Linked DNA regions of Homo sapiens: region 1 is linked to region 2. The links are contacts of gene promoters, found by promoter capture Hi-C in human tissues and cell types (Jung and others, 2019). All regions are on one chromosome and are shown on one strand. Each heading gives the region's core, a stretch centred on a gene start or on the middle of the fragment in contact. The rest is flanking DNA. Distances are from core to core; before and after follow the strand shown. Region 1 has its middle 95 kb from the start of FIBIN. Region 2 holds the start of BBOX1 (gamma-butyrobetaine hydroxylase 1).

Evidence for each region. Contacts are between HindIII fragments. The study calls those that stand out against the background at their distance.
Region 1: a contact is called between a fragment that was not itself captured here and the fragment with the promoter of BBOX1 in region 2, in 2 of the 25 tissues and cell types used here (dorsolateral prefrontal cortex and mesendoderm cells).

What each region holds. Positions count from the first base shown.
Region 1 is chr11:26,897,635-26,900,534 of GRCh38, forward strand. No RefSeq gene overlaps it. Among named protein-coding and RNA genes, the nearest start is that of FIBIN, 95 kb to the right of the region's middle. The HindIII fragment of the contact is 6,455 bases long and covers 1-2,900 here.
Region 2 is chr11:27,039,534-27,042,304 of GRCh38, forward strand. It overlaps BBOX1 (gamma-butyrobetaine hydroxylase 1), which reads left to right and starts at 1,282. Exons shown (of 9, transcript NM_003986.3): 1 at 1,282-1,495; 2 at 1,683-1,945. The HindIII fragment of the contact is 6,644 bases long and covers 1-2,771 here.

The sequences.
Region 1 (2,900 bases), core at 373-2,872, 140 kb before region 2:
TTAGCTTTTCGCTTGCAGTTTGTCTTTTCTAGTTTAACAATTCCTGTTTTGTGCTTAAATTCCACATTCCCAGTTACACTCCAATTATCCACTTAGATTTTGACTATAACTATTGCAAAATTTATCACCCTTCTTTTCTCTCTGATTCTTATTCTACTATATGGAAGTCTCAATTCGGATCTGTTTGCTGTTTTTTAGTTTATAGAGAAATATTCCCTCAGACGGGATAACTGAGTGGTAGGTACTCTTTAGCATCTTGAATATCTGGACATATCTTTCTCTCATCATGGAAAGCAAATGTGATACTTGGGTTGCAGTCCTTCTTGCTAATATTCTCTACAAGTTACTCTACCATTTTTTAGCTTCCAGTGTTGCATATGAAAATCAAATGCTTATTTGATTTTTATTTTTGTAGATAAATTGTTTTCGCATCAAAAGTTCATGAGTTCTCTTTATTCTTGGAGCTGTGGAATTTTACCAGAATAAGCCTAGATATGTTTCTTCTAACATCTAACATCTTCACAATCTAACATTCAGTTGGTACTTTTTCATATTCATGATACGTTACTAATTTATTTGTTGTTTTTCTTCAACTATTCTCTTTCCGTTCTTTGGAAATTTTATTATTTTAACATGGTAAGTATCCTGGATCTCTTCTCCAGGAAACATTTCCATAATCATTTCCATTTCTTGGTATTTTTATTTGTTCTGAGATATTTATTCCAGGTCCTAACAGGTCTCAACCATAACCCTTGCCTTCTTCTACTTGTCTACATGCTTTTTAAGGTCCCAATTCATGTTTATAAACAGAAAAAGATTGCTTAAAAAAAATTGATTCATTATAGGTAATCTTTTACATTTTAAAATCATGTTATCTCCTCTAGCACTACCATTCCTCTTGAACATGTCTTTTCTCTGTCTTCTATTTTTTTTCCCTGTTTGTTGGGTTCATTTGCCTGATCAGTAGATTTTAGGTACAGTTGTTGGGGTACCTTAAGTGACAGCAGTCTTTGATTGTCAAGAAGCACAGAAGTCTCCACACATGAGATCCACGTCAAACAGCTATCATGAGAATAAACTTTTTCTGTTTTATCATCTCCTAAAATAATAATACTGGCAATAGCTGGCAAAGGCTGACACTCTTCCATTGTCAGGAGGAGAAGAAATAAAAAAAAAACACCTGTTTAACTGACCAGCTCTTGCTACTAAAAGTGTGGTCTTTGGACCAGCAGCAGTGGACTCAAAAGTAAAAACTTTGTAAAGGCCATGAGCTGATCAGTGGAAGCCCTTGATGCCCAACTTGTCTGACTATTAGTCACACCAATTAGATTGGATAGATGCATGGCTTTAGTACGGTGTTGTGCCTCAGGACATGCACATAGACTTAACATGATGTATTATTTCTTGTTGAGCACAACCTACCTAAAATGATGACTACTAAATAGCATACAATGAGTATAGCACATAGTACACTCAAAGAGCCCCAAGATTATGGAATAGTAACATTCCACAGAAAATTTGAGATTCAGAACTTGCAATGATGCTTTCCAAGATCTGTAGGATTCTAGGATTTATGAGATCTGATAGATTATTTTGGGATGAATAGATTCCTGAGTAGAGCCAGTTTATATAGCTTTGTCATTATTCATGAAACACATTTCAACTCAAGGTCCCAAGTCAAATTTCATCAATGATTGCTTTCAAGCATAATAAGTACAACTTTAATAGATTTACAGCATCTTAAGAAGTTGCAAGTTGACTGAGAATTACCCAATGAAGGGTCAACATTCAGAAATCCATGGAATTGCCCCAAATAAGTTCCTTTTTCCTTCAATTTTATAATCAGGCATCATATGGCTATATTTTTCACTGTTCTGTGATTTCCTTTCTTTGGAAAAGGCCATATAATTTTATACATTACTTCATTTTGTTTGTTTTAAGGTGTTTTGAAAAATCAAACTGGGATCCTTTTTGATATGTAGAAGTTAAGTAGTCTAATATCTTTCATCCAATGAGGAACATAATGGAAGAAACTTATATAAGTACATTTAAATATAAGTAATATGTTTGGCAACATAATGTTGGTTGTGCTAGAATTTATCTGGAGACATTTTTAGTATTTATGAACAAGTGCATTATGTCACAAAATGCGGAGAGCCCACAAAAAGGTGACAAGAGTACCAGACAGGGCCTAAAAAGAGACACATTTTGAGTTTTCATTATTCCTATTTCTCCTGGGCATGCCCCATCATTATTTGTTGTGGGATTTGGATCATTGCAGCAATTGAAAGGAAAAGGTTATAAGTTAGTATATAATTTAGTCATAAATGTTAACTAAATAAAACTAAATAAAGCTTTACCCTCCCCCCACAAAAAAAAAACCTTTACACTAAATTTGCTACAATTCTTTGCCTTCTCCAGTGAAACTGCCATGTAAAAACATCCTAAGATTTCTTAAGTCACGTTGGTCCATCTTTTCTTTGATGTCATGGGATCACATAAAAGATGGCGTATAGCAGGGCTCCTGTTGGCAGTAAAAGCATGATGTCACTGAATCAATCATCCAGTCCCCATTAAATCATGGGGCAAAAAGTATCAGCACATTCCATGTTCTTTGCTGCTCTTAAAATCAAGTACACCACAGAACCCTCACTAGGCCTCCAACATTTCACCAAATTTTGGTCTCTGATTCTTAGTTATGTTTTATTATTCAGGTACAGAAATCATAGCTTCCATGGGTGGGAAACAAGGAAAGATAGAAAGGCCACATTTTGGTGATACACACTTCCCCCATGTCTCTAATCATGAAAGGTCTTCTTGCTCTTCTGTTGTGTAGAAGTAGGTGCTACAAGCAAAGCTGATCTTATATAACCTACCTCTTTCTTCTACTTCTTCATTCT
Region 2 (2,771 bases), core at 32-2,531:
TCAGAAAATTGAAAATAGAGCTCTCATATAATCCTGCAATCCTACCTCTGGATATATATCCAGAGGATATAGAATAAGTATGTCAAAGAGATAGCTGCACTCCCATGTTCATTTAAGAAGCTTCTTACAGTGGAGAGCAGAGTTTTGATTATTTACCTGTTTCTGAGAATCAATTCTTTATGTGCAAGTCTTTAAACTTTATTAACAGATTTACTTGTCGGTTTATTTATTGTTTGTTCTATTTAATCATTCCATTAGAAACTATTTATATCTGGCACATTCTTGTCAGCAACTTTCTTAAAGCTGAAACAGAATTTACCTAATTTATTCCAGTAATTGTTACTAAAGTACAAAGTGTAAAGGAAAAATTCATTGTGTATATTTCTGTGATGTCATGAATTATTAAAATATAATTATCTGATTGCTTTTGGCATACTTATAACTTCAGTTACCGTGGGTTTAAGATGCTGGTCACATTTATGACGGCACCCACATATACACACCCTCCTCTCATACATGGAAAACAAAACCTGCTGTTGTTTTCACTGGCCAGTGGGTGTCAGTAATTTGACCTGGAGACTTGGGGGAAGAAAGGAGGAAAGTGGAAAAGAGGTTCCTTTCTTCAGATGCAGGGAAACAGTTTAAATTTTATTGTTAAAGGATCTGAAAAAACATCGTTTAGGGAGGGGATGCTGACATTCTGGAAGGGGAGATTTCCCATAAAGGAGGCCACCAGACAGTTGGGCTGCATTTTCTCTCTGTGTGGCTACCTCTTGTTCTTTTTTGACTGAGTCTCACTCACAGCCCTGCGAATCCTTCGGGCAAGAAGCAACAAGTTGCAGGCTGCTTCTACATCTGCCTAGGAAGAGGGTGTTAGGTGGGAGGAGGGCAGATGACTCAAGCGTCTCTCTCCTGGACCTTAGTTTCCACCTGTAGACTTTCTTTTAATGTAATCTAGACTCTGTTAGGACCTAGGACCTGAGACCAGTCCAACAGGGTCTCCCCCACACTGGGCACTCTCCAAGAGTATGCCTGGCAGTCAGGCTCTGAATGCTGGCATGCTGCCTATTCTGGCCTTTCCCTTTTGTTGCCCTAAGGGCTGTGTGTTGTGAATCAAATCACTGGGCAACCAAGTACCTTCAAAAACAGCCCCAAGCTCTCTGGAAACTACTTCCTATTCCAGCCAAAATTGCAGAGAAAGGAGGGCATCAAGCTTAGGGGACCAATCCCTGTCTTTCTACCAGTCCCTGATAACTACTCAAGCTCCCTTTAAAGAGGCTCATATTGGAATACTCTGTTGACAAGTAGATACCACTTCACCTCTGCTAGGGTGAGCGCTGGTAGCTCCTCCCTGTTAAATGCCCATCTCAATGCCTCTGCCCTAAGTGAGTTGTGCAATAAATGAGCTGTCACTCTGAACAGGTGGGAAAGAAGTGAACTGCTTGTTCACTTGCTGCTGTTGCCACTGCTGGTACAGAAATAGAAGGTAAGACAGGTGAGAACTGCTTTTCCTTCTATCAAGAAAGATTCCAAACTGAGGCAATGCTTTGCATTGAGTCCTGGGGTTTTGTGGTTTTGGGAACCAACAGTACTCAAAGTATTTTCTCTTGCTAACTGCTTCCCCTCTAGGCCATAAAGCCTCTTTTCTTTCTTTTTTTTTTTTTTTTTTAAAAAAAACACAGCACAAAAAAACAAAGACAAAAAACCTCCAAGCTCCCTTCAGTAGTTGCTACACCTTCAGATTGAGACATCCTTCCTCATTTACAAACCTCAGCTGTGTCTGGGGGCAGGGCCACAGTGAAACTGCCAGGAGCAAAAAGGCTTCCAAGAAAAAGTACCACATCAGATTGGAAACTGGGGACAGATCATTCCTGGGATGTGACGGGCACCAGAATGCTCCCTCTCCAAAGGATCTAAGGACCAAAGCTGACAGTTTCTTTACTTGGTAAGTTTTGGGTGGTTTGCTGTGTAAAGCATATCTGAGAACAGGTATGATTGAGCTCATCTTCCTTTTCTCCTTATTGCAAGGGTTTGTGAATTCAAGTCTGTGGACTGAGGTGGTGGGGAGCATCCAATTAGAACTCCATTCACATGTAGCTCACAGTCATGTGGGCTGTGCTGGGGATGGTCCATCAAGCATTTAGAATAGGCTTGGTTTTGGAATGCAGTGGATCTGATTGCTTCTTGGCAGCTTCTCTTTCCCAATTATGTTTGGCTTAGTCTGATAGTCAAATTACTTTATAATCCCTAAGCTGATCCAGAAAGTAAACAGAAGAGACAGAGAGAACGCTGTCTAAAAAGAGACTGGGGATGGGGCAAGGAGGATTCTGGTTGGATTTTCAAAATGTTCCCTGAATAATCCACAACCCATCCCAAAGAATGGTGACTGCATATGATACCCTAGCTCTTTGTTAAGCTCAAAAAGCTGACTATAACATGCCTCTTTAAAATGCTGGCCAATTAAAGCCACTATGCACATCTTCAATTGTTTTGTTCCCTTAACGAAGCTCAAGAAGGTATATTACAGGTATGGATTTGATTAAAAACGTAAGGTTTCTCATAATGAATATATGTTCTGGTTTAAATAATTTAGAAATTTTCCTAAAATCTAAACCCAGTACTTTGCATTACATCAGAAAACAAAGCCTTGATAATTTGATTTCCAATCTGAAAATGGTGATTCCACTAAAGTGAAGCTAAAGTTTTCCTTTGTATAATTTACAAATGAAGTGTTTGCATGAAATTTAATGCCTTAAGCAAGACAGGCAGAA